Regions from separate parts of the Homo sapiens genome. Here regions 1, 2, 3 and 5 are each linked to region 4. Evidence: promoter capture Hi-C in 16 types of primary human blood cells and fetal thymus (Javierre and others, 2016). All regions are on one chromosome and are shown on one strand. The core of a region is centred on a gene start or on the middle of the fragment in contact, and the rest is flanking DNA. Distances in the headings are between cores, read along the strand shown. Region 1 has its middle 250 kb from the start of LINC02438. Region 2 overlaps LINC02438 (long intergenic non-protein coding RNA 2438). Region 3 overlaps LOC105374510 (a long non-coding RNA gene). Region 4 holds the start of SLIT2 (slit guidance ligand 2). Region 5 overlaps LOC105374510 (a long non-coding RNA gene).

Region 1 (2,700 bases), core at 94-2,593, 1.0 Mb before region 4:
AAAAAAATGAAACTCAAACTTATTAAACAACTCTCATTCAAAATTGCTACAAAGAGAATAAAACATATAAGAATACAGATAACAAGGGAAGTAAAGGACCTCTTCAAGGAGAACTACAAACCACTGCTCATGGCAATCAGAGAGGACACAAACTAATGGAAAAACATTCCATGCTCATGGATAGGAAGAATCATTATGAAAATGGCCATACTGCCCAAAGTGATGTAGAGATTCAATGCTATTCCCATTAAACTACCATTGACATTCTCCACAGAATTAGAAAAAAACTACTTTAAAATTCATATGGAACAAAAAAAGAGCCCAGATAGCCAAGACAATCCTAAGCAAAGGAACAAAGCTGGAGGCATCACATTCCCTGACTTCAAGCTACACTACAAGGCTACAGTAACCAAAACAGCATGGCACTGGTAGAAGAACAGACACATAGGCCAATGCAACAGAATAGAGAACTCAAAAATAAGACCCCACATCTACAACCATCTGATATTTGACCAACCTGACAAAAAAGTGTTGGAGAAACTGTTTCCTATTTAATAAATGGTGCTGGGAGAACTGGCTAGTCATATGCAAAAAATTGAAACTGGACCCTTCCTTACACCTTATGCAAAAATTAAGTCAGTGTGGATTATAGACTTAAATTTATAACCCCAAACTATAAAAACCCTAGAAGAAAATCTAAGCAATACCATTCAGGACATGGGCAAGAGCAAAGATTTCATAACTAAAACATAAAAAGTAATTGCAATAAAAGCCAAAATTGACAAATGGGATCTAATTAAACTAAAGCGCTTCTGCACAGCAAAAGATACTATCATCAGAGTGAACAGGCAAGCTACAGATTGGGAGAAAATTTTTGCAATCTACCTGTGTGACAAAAGTCTAATATCAAGAATCTACAAGGAACTTAAACAAATTTACAAGAAAAATACAAACAACCCCATTAAAAAGTGGGCAAAGGACATGAACAGATGCTTCTCAAAAGAAGAGATTTTGCACCTAACAAACATGGAAAAAAGCTCAGCATCGCGGATCATTAGAGAAATGCAAGTCAAAACCACAGTGAGATACCATCTCACACTGTCAGAGTGGCAATTATTAAAAAGTCAAGAAACAACAGATGCTGGCAAGGCTGTAGAGAAATAGGAACACTTTACACTGTTGGTGGGAATTTAAATTAGTTCAACCATTGTGGAAGACAGTGTGGTGATTCCTCAAAGATATAGAAACAGAAATACCATTTGAACCAGCAATCCCATTACTGGGTATATACCCAAAGGAATATAAATCATTCTATTTTAAAAATACATGTGTCCATACGTTCACTGCAGCACTATTCATAATAGCAAAGACATGGAATCAACTCAAATGCCCATCAATGATAGACTGGATAAAGAAAATGTAGTACATATGCACCACGAAATACTATGCAGACATAAGAAAGAATGAGATCATCTTCTTTGCAGGGATATGGATGGAGCTGGAAGCCATTATCCTCAGCAAACTAACACAGGAACAGAAAACCCAAACACCACCTGCTCTCACTTGAAAGTGGGAGCTGAACAGTGAGAACACATGGACACCTTGAGGGAAACAACACATACTGGGGCCTTCAGTCAGGCAGGGAGGGGTGGTAGAGGGAGGGAAAGCATGAGGAAAAATAGCTGATGCATGCTGGGCTGAATATCTAGGTGATTGGTTGATATGTGAAGCAAACCACCATGGCACATGCTTACCTATGTAACAAACCTGCACATCCTGCACATGTATCCCGGAACTTAAAATAAATAATAATAATAGTAATAACTGGTTTACAGAGTCTAGGCTTTTAATTATTACTCTATGAAGTAGTCTCCCAAATGGTATTCACAAAATGATTCATAGAAAATTTATTGTGATCTTTATGATTTTTATGAATATTTATGTTTTCACCCTAGTTTTCATATCAGGTTCATATGTCTAAAAGGAAAATATTACTTGTGGTATGTTGATGATGCCCAAGGTAAAGATGGGGTATTCACCACAAATCTAACAATTAAGACCATCACAATTTTTCATTTGCTTTCAGCACACTGAGGTGTGTCATAGTAAAATTACCCTTAGTTCAATAAATTTACAGGATATTTTATTTTTCATATTATTATATTTTAATCTACTTTGCCATATAGAAAATGACTATAAAATGATATTTAGAAATGGAAAAACATTGCTTATCATCTCATGGTCAAAAATTAGGATTATCATTGTCAATCTTCGAAATATAATATGCATTTTTTCACTTATAAAGCATACATGCTTTAATTTGCTGAATTTGTTATGGCATTGTGGTAAACTGATTATATCCACTTACTTTGCTATGAACCTTTGCGTGTCTTTCACTATGGGTGGAGTACATTTGTCCAGTGCCATGATTTCTGTCTTGGTTTTGTGACCTTTTTTGCTTAATAAAATATTAATAAATATGATGTGGACTTAAACATGTGGGCATGGCTTGCCTTGCTTTCTTAAGTTCCTGTGATCATCTATAAAATGAACATGACATGAATAACTACTGACTAAAGATAAATAAATTGGAAAACACATGCAACAGAGTTAAGCCCAACCCACAATTCAAAGCCAAGTCTAGATAATTCTAAATTGGTCACTGCTGATACACAGAGTCTATATATATTTAAAATTGTT
Region 2 (2,707 bases), core at 135-2,634, 1.0 Mb before region 4:
TAAAGTTATAACAGATTAATTTAAGCTGATAGCAACTTAAATTTGGTCATATAAAAAGACTCTATATTATTTCCCTTTCCCCACAATTTATATTTGTGTTGCCATAATTTGCTTATCTATTATTGTTTCTTAGCCACCAATTGAATCTGTTGATTTTTACTTTTATTTATTTATTTATTTTTAGATGGGGTTTTGCTCTTGCTGCCTAGGCTGGAGTGCAATGGTGTGCTCTTGGCTCACTGCCACCTCCACCTCCCGGGTTCAAACAATTCTCCGATCTCAGCTTCCCAAGTAGCTGGGATTACAGGCACCCGTCACCACACCTGGCTAATTTTTGTATTTTTTAGTAGAGACAGGGTTTCACCATGTTGGCCTGACCTCAGGTAATCCACCTACCATGGCCTCCCAAAGTGTTTTTTTTACTATTTTTACTTCAAAACTTCATACTAGACAATTGAAAGATGTACATAGCACCATTACATCACTGGGGTATTCTGGGTATAAGTTATAACTTTATGTCTACTGGTGAGTTTTATACATTCATGTGTTTTCATGATAGTGATCATTATCCTTTGTTTCCAGTTGCAGCACTCTTTAAGCAATTCTTATCAGGCCAGTCTAATGGTGAATTCTCTTTGCTTTTTTTTTTTTTTTTTTTTTTTGTCAGGAAAGGCCTTTATTTCTCCTTTATTTCCGAAGAATAGCTTTGCTGGAATAGTTTTATTGGCTGACAGTTATTTGCTTTATTTGAGCACTTTGAATATATGATTCCATTCTCTCCTCGTCTGCAAGGTTTCTGCTAAGAAATGTGATGATACTGTAAAGGTGACTGTTTTATACGTGAGTTGACACTTTCTCTTGCTGCTTTTAGAAATCTCTCTTTATCTTTGGCTTTTGACAGTTTGATTATAATGTTCTTCAGAGAGTTTGTATTGAATATAATTAGGGCTTTTGAGCTTCCTGAATCTGTATGTTCATATCCATCTCACCACTTAGAAAGTTTTCAGTTATTATTTTGCAGAATAGGGTTTCTGCACGTTTTTCCACCTATTCTCTCTCTAGTACTCATATAATAGTAATAAAAAAAATTGTCAGCTTAATGATCCCACAAGCCTTTTAGGATTTCTTCTTTCCTTGTTTTTAATTCTTATTTCTTTATTTTTCCTCTGATTGCATTATTTCTTTTGGTTGATATAATGTGTTGTTGAAGCTCTTAATTTTATTTATCTATTTATTTATTTTGAAGCCAACTGAATGGCATGATGTTCTTGGCTTTTGCCTTCCAGTGTACTGTCAGACACACTGTGGAAAGGCCCTCAGGTTTCTGTCACCTCCATATCATTCTCACTATCCTCCCCTTCTTTCCAAGGATCCCATGTCCTGGGATTCCACACTGTCTTGCTCAGAATCATCCAGATTTTAGGCCATAACTCTTTTGCCACCCCCCACGTGGAGGGATTGTCTGGTTAGAGTCTCTGTATTCTCCTTGCTTTTATCCCCCTCCCTTTTATCTAGCTTCTTCACAAAATTCCCATGCAGGGCAACATGAACGCTCACATATCAGTCTCTCTATCAATTGTATTTTAAAACTTAATTCATTGACTTATTCAGCTCCATCATTTAGTTTGTTCTTTTTTATGATATCTATCAAAATTCCTTATTTAGATCATGAACTGTTTCCTGATTTTATTAAATTGACTGTGTTCTTTTGTAACTTCCCGACTTTCCTTATGATTATCAATTTGAATTCCTTTTCAGGCATTTAATAAATGGCGAGTTATTTTACTTAAGAGGTATTGTTTTTTTGGAGGGTGACAATGTTTTCCTGCCTTTTTTTTGTTTTTGTTTCTTATGTCCCCAAATTGATATCTGTGCATCTGGTTGTTGAGCTAGGCATGTGCAGATACAGAAAGCCAACAGGCTGTCTGTAGGGCTTTTGGGGGAGGTGGTAGGAACTTCCAGGCTGGTTGTTGGGCAAGGCTTGGGCATATGTTGGTGCAACCGCCCAGTGGCTGTCAGGCTATCTCTTCAGAGTGAGGGGGGCACCACCAGACCAGCCATCAGGCCAGTCACAGGTACAGGCAGATGCTGCAGGGCCACATGCCTCTGTGGCAGTCTGTTTGTGTCTTGGGATTTGATATGGTTTTGCTGTGTCGCCACCCAAATCTCAACTTGAATTGTGTCTCCCAGAATTCCCACGTATTGTGGGAGGGACCCAGGGGGAGGTAATTGAATCATGGGGGCCAATCTTTCCCATGCTATTCTCGTGATAGTAAATAAGTCTCACAAAATCTGATGGGTTTATTAGGGGATTCTGCTTTTGCTTCTTCCTCATTTGCTCTTGCTGCCACCATGTAAGAAGTGCCTTTCACCTCCTACCGTAATTCTGAGGCCACCCCAGCCAAGTGGAACTGTAAGTCCACTTAAACCTCTTTTTCTTCCCAGTCTTGGGGATGTCTTTATCAGCAGCATGAAAACAGACTAATACAGTAAATTAGGACCAGTAGAATGGGGCATTGCTGAAGATACCCAAAAAATGTGGAAGCAACTTTGGAACTGGGTAACAGGCAGAGGCTGGAACAGTTTGGAGGGCTCAGAACAAGACAGGAAAATGTAGGAAAGTTTGGAACCTCCTAGAGACTTGTTGATGGTGGAGCAAAGGTAACTCTTGTTATGTTTTAGCAAAGAGATTAGCGGCTTTTTGCAC
Region 3 (2,700 bases), core at 38-2,537, 1.6 Mb before region 4:
AGTCCCTGTCTTTCTGCCTAATCCTACTCTATCATAATGCATCTAGCACAATGGAGATGCATGCATGCTTAATTTCCATAAATTACACAGCCCTGCATTTTCATAAAGACAAATTCCAATTGTAAACTATTAAACCTAAGTCAACATCCTTTGATGTCTCTGAGAAAGATTGTGGGGGAAGTTTAAGCATTCCCACATGGGGATGTGTTCCCTAGAGTAGGTGAGGAGGGAGGTAATATTTTTTTTGCCCCTCATATCTCTTTATTAACTTGGATGTGTTCTTCTGAGGCTGAAGTGAGTTCCTTTACAGAAACTTAAAAAAAAAAACAAAAACACAACAAAACAAAACAAAAACACTGTGGGAAAACCAGCACCACACATCACTTCTCCCAAAAGCTAAACTCTTAATCAGAATCAAAAGAAACTCTGTTTCTCTGAAGCCATGGCTTGGTTTCAGCCTCTAAAGTGGGAACCAAGTCTAGCCGTCCCTAACCAATAGCCTTACTCTTTGGATTATCGAATGTTACTTTTTTTCTTTGTTTCGAAACTCTCTCCTTCAAGCTCTCTTATAACTATGTAGTTAGATCAAAGGGAATACCATCCAGACCTCTCCATTCAGGTACCATGGAGCTTTCATTATTTAGTTGTGGAATTTCCTCAACAGATCCTGTTCTCAGCATCCTGTTGACATAATTTAACATACAGGTTATAAAGACTTCTGTGAGCCTTCTCCCTTCCTGTTTACTTTCACTCCTCGGTGGAACCCAGGGCTCAGAAGCCGGCTCTTTTACATCTGAAAGCCGGATCACCTCCCCCCAAAGCAGGAAAGGTGTGAAAAGTAAGCAAGGGAAAGCAAGAAAGCAAATACAGTGGCTTTTTAACAGCGCTGCAGACCTGGCTCGGTCTGAGAGGTGATTCAGGGAGTGAGAATTCTGAGCAGGGGGCAGGATGGGGACCATGGATACATTTCTAGGTCCTGCTGGGTTGGTCCTTCACAGGGTGGCTTTGTTGTGAGATGTGACATGTTATGAATTCCTGGAACCCCACACACACTTGCATGCAAATGTAAGTTGATTTAAACACAAGAGGGGGCTCTCAGATTCAAGGCCACTAACCAGAACTAGTGAGATGGAAGATTTCTTAGTTCTGTAATTATTCCTGATGCACACCTCTGGGAAGAGGATGTCTTCCTAACTATATTTGCAAATGTTGGCTGGAAACCATGGGGGCCTGGCCAGAAATCGCCACGTGAGCCATCTCAGGTCCAGATAAGTCAAAATGTTGTAACAGAGGAATAGCGCCAAAGGGTATTTTAGCAGCAATTTGAACTTTGTAAGCACAATACAATGCAGCTGTTGAAGGTTCAGGGCTTGTGGCATGCAGTGGGGGTGAGCGCAAGGTGTTGGTGCAGGGGCAGTGTCAATGTGTCCACTGCCAAGTGATTTTGAAGCAGACATAGAGAGACCACAGATGATGGACAGAGCAGATGAGGAAATCCTTTATTTGCACGAAACTGCTGAAGGATGCAAATTTCAGAGCAGGTAGCACAACCTTTTCAGTTCCAGATGCCCCAGGAAAAAGATTTTCTTAAATCCATTTTGGCAAGCCAGCCACAAAAGGCCAGGCATGTGGACCCAGAAAGTATAGGGGTGAATAAGTGGTCAGTGTGTATTCCGGGTATCTGAATACCAGCTTAGGCAAACTACAGCCCCATCAATTCAATGCACACCTCTCTTTGTGAATTTACCTTGGGTATTTAGGTATAGTTTATGTGACATTTTTTGAAATTATCATCAAGAAAAAAACATATGTATATGTTTCTATACCTATACTCTTCCCGAATACAATGGAAACTAACATGGTTTTATTTTGCTACTTTCAAACCAAATCCCAATTTTTGTTGATAAAATCTGAAATTTAAAACCCATATTAATAGTAAATGTGTACTTTATATTGTGATTATAATGTTACCATTATAAATATATGAATATTTATATATTATGTTTTAGTTATAATTCTTTGCAAAAAGTATTGTCTCATGTGCTTTAAAGTGTATAAACTTTAATAATTCTTCAAACTTATAGTATATTTAGTTTTATTTCTCATTACTATATGTTTTTAATACCATAATGTCTCCATAGTTGATGTCTATATTTTGGTACCAATTAGAAGTGGGCTCTTTGAAAAATTTATTTTATTTTCTAAAAAATTTCACTTAAGGACATGATTTTGGCTGGAGTGATCCCAATTTCCATTTCATCAATTATATAAGGAGTTATATGTAGAAACTTGAGGTAATTAGTATAGTATTTTCAATTTATTCCAGTGATATTTTAGTACCCTTAAAAGATTGATGCTTACAAAATTATCTTTTAAATTTCCTGTGTGTGTGTGTGTGTGTGTGTGTGTGTGTTCATGTACGTGGTTAGGTACCATTGTAAAAGTACTTGAAGGCTATACTTTTATTCATTTCTCAGCTGACTGTGATGCAAATTGACTATTCTTTTTTTTTTTTTTTTTTACAAAGGGTATGGAAGGAAAGTGTACTTTGTAAATCTCCTATAAAGTTATGTTTCCTTTGTCCTGATACCAGGCAGCAACATAGCTTGTTGTAGAAATTTTGGGTCAAATGTTTGTTTACGCACAACACTAAAATCTCATTTATTTGACATATTTGCTGAATACCCATTGTCTGCTGGG
Region 4 (2,700 bases), core at 181-2,680:
TAAAATGAGTAATCCTAAGAGTTCCAATTCAGTTATCAGATGGTACCCTGCCTTTGGGCGTGTCCTCGAAAAGGCTTACGTTTTCCAAGGCAGGCAAAATGAGGTAAGTAGGGGTAGCCATTATGAAAGGACATCTTAGAAAATGTTAACCAGGAAAAACGTTAATGAGGATATTGCAGAGATTTTAGGTTGAGCATACTCTTGAGTTAAAGAAATCGGTTACTTATGAGGAAACCTATTATGTGGCAGGCATAGATGCTGGAAATACAAAGAGTTGGACAGGTCTTGCTTTCAAGGAAGCTTCTAATAATTATACAAATAACTACTACAATATGAGGCTGGTATTAGGCGGGGGCTTGCACAAATTCCAGGGAAAGCTTCTTAACGTGGAAATGGGAGGAAGAACAACAATATGATGCATATTAAATCCAAGAGAAGGAGCAGAGTCATTTAGATGTCATTTCAAACTTACAGTGACATTGGCTCTTGCTGGGGGGGAAAGGGGGGCGAGAGAGGCAGCCGTTGCCAGACATACGTCACACTAAAGAGACAAGATGAAACAAGGAAATTCTCTTTCAAAACATAGCGGGGAAAAAAATATCCAGAACTGCCCTGAAATAAAGAAAACCTTCTGGTATAATGTGCGTTGCTAGGGATTTATTTTTTCCCCTCCTTTCTCTCATAAGAGAGTAAAAAATCACACAGATACGTTCAAGCCCTTAAGAGTTTTGTGAGCCTATTGAATATCCAAGACATCAACTGACCACGGTGTGGTTCAGTGTGTGTCTACAAAGGAAGGGTTAAACGGAAGGGGGTGGCTTGGAGATAGAAAGGCAAGCAAGAAGGTTGGAAAATGCTGTTTTCCAACTTGCAAAAACTGAACTTTTCAGCTCCCCAAAATACACGTGTGTGTCTGTAAGCGCAGGCAGATCTATTTCGGTAGGATTTTTCTTAAATTTAAATCATAATTTCTCTGTTTCTGTCTCTCTGTCTCTTGCTGCGCTGCAAAGAGTGAGCAGCCCCCTTAAGGATCGCGTGGCAAAAGCTGCAGGAGAGGCACTGGCAGGGCTGTTTATTTATGAGCCGCGTTCAAAGCCGACCTCTTCCCATTCTCCCACTGCAAACGACTATCTCCGAGCCCAGGTCACCTCTGGGGCCAAGGAGTTGGGGGCTGGGGCTCGGGTGGCTCCTTCTTCGGGCCAAGTTTGCCCGCGCGTGGGAGCGAGGGGGCGAGCCAGGGCGCACGGGAACGCGCGCCGCCAGCCGCCGCCTCCGCCCAGCGCTGGCAGCCCCGGCCTCACCTCTCCCCTCTCCCCAGCGAGGTGCGGGCTCCCAGAGCGGAGCCAGGGGGCGGGCCTGGGCCTCGAGGGGCGGGGTCAGGGGGCGGAGGCTCGGGCGGCTATATAAGGCCCGCGCCGGCTCAACTTCGGACTTGGTGTTATTTATTTGGGAAGCGCCCGGACGGCGGAGCTTGGCGGCGGCGGTGGTGGTGGCTGCCGCAGACTGTGGTTAAAAAAAAGAAGGCGGCGGCGGCGGCGGCGGCGGAGGCGGAGGCAGCTGCGAGGCATGGGAGCGCCGAAGCGCCCAGGCGCAGGCCGAAGCTGCCGCGCTTTCTGGGCACGGCGGGAGTGCTGAGCAGAAAGGGGAGCGCCGGGGGCCCGCAGCCGGCTCCGGAGGCGCGGGCCGGGTTTTTGTTTGGCTACGCTGAGCGCCAGTCAGCCCCAGCGAACAACTCCAGTTACGACAACAACCCACCTTCCTTCCAGACAAGCGAGACTTGGGCTGCTGCGTCCGTCCTATTGTTTAGACACTTGCCAGGGGCTCCGGAGTCGGCAGAGCCACCGAGTCCCCGCTCTGAGTCGTCGCCCTCCCTCTCCCCGACCTCGCTCCCTGGAGCGGGAGGCCAGGAAAGCAGCGGGAGAGGGGAAGGGGCTAGAAGGAGAAGGACTACCCGGGACTGCGGCCGCCGCGTCAGGTGCAGCGCCAGGAGCCGGGCGGCGTCGCCACGCCGGCAGGGGTACCGCCACTGTGGCCTTGGGGGACGGAATTCAAAGCCTGGGAAAAGTTGCTGCACTTTGAGAAGGACGAACCACTAGTGGGAGACCGCCGGGGGCCGGCCGTGGCTCTGCGCCCTCCGGAACCCGGCTCTTGTTTCTTCTACCTTTGCCATCAGGTGTCTGCCGCGGAGCTGCGGCTTATCTGGGAGACGAGCGGGGTTGACACGCGCGCACACACTACTGCCATTCAGCTGCCGCCTGGCTCTGCCTGGAGTAGTGGATCCCACCCGCCCACCTGCCACCGAGCCATTCTCCAGTACGCCCCAGCAGGACGCTGACACCTCCAACCTTGGCCTTTGCCTTTCCACTCCTTCCGGTCTGCCTGGTTTTTAAGTCCGCCCCCAGTCAGTCCCCACTCAGTCTTCGCAGCAGCTCTCATCCTCCACTTGGCCTCTTGGAGTTCCTCGCCGGAGTGCTGACTAGTGGATATTTCTGCCCGGCTGCGGCGGCCCGACTGCCCTTTTGTCTTTTCTGCGTGACCTCGGGGCAGGTCCTGGTGCAGAGCGTCGCCAAGGACGCCGAGCGGGAGGCGGGATTGCCCAGACATCCTTCAGCGAAGTGCATGTGTGTTTGTAAACCATCGTTGGCTGTCGGGAGACCGCGAGGACCGGTCCAGGCTGCGGCGGAGTCGAGGGCGAGGGAG
Region 5 (2,721 bases), core at 28-2,527, 1.6 Mb before region 4:
AGAGTTGACATAAAAAGACTACTTAGGAGGCTATTCTGGGAATTAAGGCAAGATGGAATTCTGAACCAAGGCAGGAGGATGTTGTAGATGAAATTTATTTAGAGCTATTAAGGAGGTAGAATCTATAGATCTTTGGGACTAGCAGCTAGCCAGGGGAATGAGAGACAAAGGAGTCAATGGTGACTCCTGGTATTCTAACATGGGTTGCTATGTGAATGTGTTGCAACTTCTTAGGACTGGGAATGCCAGATGCACAGGTGTTTGAATAAATCCATAAGCTTATACATTTATGTATTCTGTTCTCATGAAATTATGAACTCCCTGCAAACAGGAAGCACTTTTTAAACCTTCCTTATAACTTTACACTTCTCTAAGCAGTCATCCCCATCTATATTAGAAACTCAATAAGTAACCATTGAATCATTTGAGGATTAGATTTGTCTTCTCCTATAGAGATTACTGAAGAGGAATTTCAGCATTTCCTTATACATTATGTGTGAAACGGGGTGACAATTTTTCCCAATTGGAAGCTTTCCCATTGTTACTGAGAAAAGACAATCTAGCATATTAGCTAGAAGCAGATAAAGTTCTCTATCTCTGAATTACATATCATAGAAAAATCTAAAAAATCTTTGATATCTCTAAAGAAATACTGATTTATTCTTTTCTGAAATACAAGTCTCAAATACAAAAGGTTCCTGATAACTTAAATAAAAATGTAACACTATTCTAAATCACAAAGCATAATCTATCCCTATATTTTGGAGATCTGTGGACTAAAGAGATAATTTCTTACAGCCTCACAGCCTTCCCTCTCAGAAAACTAAGTCTTAATGGAAGAAGCAAAGGTGTTCTAGTGTCAGGGCCATGCAATATCCACATAATTCACAGGGGATGCTACTGGAAGGGTTGCACAGGGAAGGGGCAAGAGAATATTGCAGCAGCTTCCCAGTGGAAAGTCAATGTGAGCGATGAATGTTTCACTGATTCCCAGTGTCCTTAATGGATTGCTTATGCTGATTCTCCCCACCTCCTCAACACACACCTCCACTTTAGTTGAATCTCTTCATATCTGTCCTGTCTCTTTTCTCTGTTTAGGCCAGTGGAGGAGGTTCACACTCACATCAGGAAGAGCCTGAGGATAAAGGGGAGCACAACATGTGTTTTGCAAATCAGTAAATCAATCAACTAATATTTATGGACTATTAAATTTGAGTGGAGCTATACATTTGCAAAGACAAAGGAAACAGGTATGATATAGAGGGGTTACCTTCAAGTCACTTACATTTTACATGCTGAGCCCTAACCAATGAAAAGATAGCTAGTAAACATATCTTTGGAATGGTTCTTACAAAACTATGGTGTGGTAATCTTCTCTTCCATAGAGCTTAGTTGCCTATCCCAATGAAGATGATTATTTTTATTTCTTTTTTTTATTTTTGTAAGTGCTGGGGATGGACTAGTCTAAACATAATATCATCTCTAAATTATACTGAAGACACTGAATATTGAAATAGAGTTTCTTGTGGCCTTCATGTAACATGACATGATAATGGTATAGCCTATTTGATATCACAGGGGAATTAAATTTGCTCTTTTTAATCATCTGGAAGAGAGCAATTTGGCATATGTTGCAATTACAAGGATGCCTTTCTCTGAGACTATTTACAGAGATAGCCACAGCTTAAGACAGAAGAGCATTGTTTGATTTGAGAGCTGTAAGGAAGGGGACGACATCAAAGGCTCCCAAATGTAGCCGGACACTTCGACTTCTCTGTACAGAAAGTTGATTATGGTCTGCAAAAGTGCACCAAGGGCATTGCTACACACAAGTTCAGTCTTTCCTCATTGAAGGTTTATGGGGCTTGTAATGTCAAGATCCATGAATTTCAGGGACTGTTCTTGTCCTTGGATCAGATTTGGAAGCAGCTTTTGATCAGTGAAGTGAAACAATTAATTATAATAAATAATGCTACTAGAAATCCTCACACAGTCAGTTAAAGGAGGAGGGGAGCCAAAGAAATAAAGCTTGTCTCTGGCAGAATCTCATCATCTGGTCTGCCTGGACCCTATCCTGTTTGGCTACAGCAACCACAGCTCACTAAGCCTCTGGTGAAAGACACAGTTGCGCCATATTCTCAGCCAGTGGTGGTATTGGGTTTTGGAAGGGTGGAGGGGGTGATAAAAGAAGCTCAAAAGGATCAGAGAGGAATGCAAAATTGTTTTCCATTCATCTGTATTTGATTGCTTTGTGCCCTGAAGCACATGATTTAATTATTTTCATCATTGCCTCAGCTTCCTCAGCTACCAATCTCATTGATGGCAATAAAATTATTCAGCCTTTACAAAAAATGCAGCCATAATAATTCTTGACTCAATGAATACTTAAGGCTATAAAATCAGCTCCTTGAATGACTGCATCCAATTGAAAACACCAACCCAGGGCTTTCTCAACAATTAAAGTGAAATATAAACTTATGTGAGATAGAAGCGTCCTGCTTCTATATTCAAAATAGCTACCTGTTATTCGTTGCCTACAACTTATATTCGCTATCTCTAGTCCACACAAGAGCCCTCTGTGAAGACAATTTTTTTTCCCCTAAGGGAGCTCAAAAAAGCCCTGAGTCAGTGTTTTGAGTTGATTATTGTAAGGTGTGTGGGAGGGGGCAGGAGTGGAGCTGGAGAATGGCCAGAAATGAATGCTTGAAGTACAGACAAAAG

What was found. Contacts are between HindIII fragments. The CHiCAGO score rates a contact against its expected background, and 5 or more counts as called.
Region 1: a fragment that was not itself captured here is called in contact with the fragment with the promoter of SLIT2 in region 4 in 2 of 17 cell types (M2 macrophages and M1 macrophages); the score reaches 7.5 in M2 macrophages.
Region 2: a fragment that was not itself captured here is called in contact with the fragment with the promoter of SLIT2 in region 4 in 1 of 17 cell types (M1 macrophages); the score reaches 5.3 in M1 macrophages.
Region 3: a contact is called between a fragment that was not itself captured here and the fragment with the promoter of SLIT2 in region 4, in 5 of 17 cell types (endothelial precursors, total B cells, M2 macrophages and 2 more). The highest score is 12.2, in endothelial precursors.
Region 5: a contact is called between a fragment that was not itself captured here and the fragment with the promoter of SLIT2 in region 4, in 1 of 17 cell types (total B cells). The highest score is 5.1, in total B cells.

Annotation. Positions count from the first base shown.
Region 1 is chr4:19,202,681-19,205,380 of GRCh38, forward strand. No RefSeq gene overlaps it. Among named protein-coding and RNA genes, the nearest start is that of LINC02438, 250 kb to the right of the region's middle. The HindIII fragment of the contact is 6,133 bases long and covers 1-2,700 here.
Region 2 is chr4:19,247,364-19,250,070 of GRCh38, forward strand. All of the region lies in intron 2 of LINC02438 (long intergenic non-protein coding RNA 2438), which reads right to left. Among named protein-coding and RNA genes, the nearest start is that of LINC02438, 210 kb to the right of the region's middle. The HindIII fragment of the contact is 2,936 bases long and covers 1-2,707 here.
Region 3 is chr4:18,690,724-18,693,423 of GRCh38, forward strand. The region is part of intron 2 of LOC105374510 (a long non-coding RNA gene); the gene reads left to right. Among named protein-coding and RNA genes, the nearest start is that of LCORL, 670 kb to the left of the region's middle. RefSeq lists an enhancer at 945-1,878. The HindIII fragment of the contact is 6,213 bases long and covers 1-2,700 here.
Region 4 is chr4:20,250,475-20,253,174 of GRCh38, forward strand. SLIT2 (slit guidance ligand 2) reads left to right here and starts at 1,431. Exons shown (of 37, transcript NM_004787.4): 1 at 1,431-2,700. RefSeq lists an enhancer at 2,547-2,700. The HindIII fragment of the contact is 6,723 bases long and covers 376-2,700 here.
Region 5 is chr4:18,674,066-18,676,786 of GRCh38, forward strand. The region is part of intron 2 of LOC105374510 (a long non-coding RNA gene); the gene reads left to right. Among named protein-coding and RNA genes, the nearest start is that of LCORL, 650 kb to the left of the region's middle. The HindIII fragment of the contact is 1,498 bases long and covers 529-2,026 here.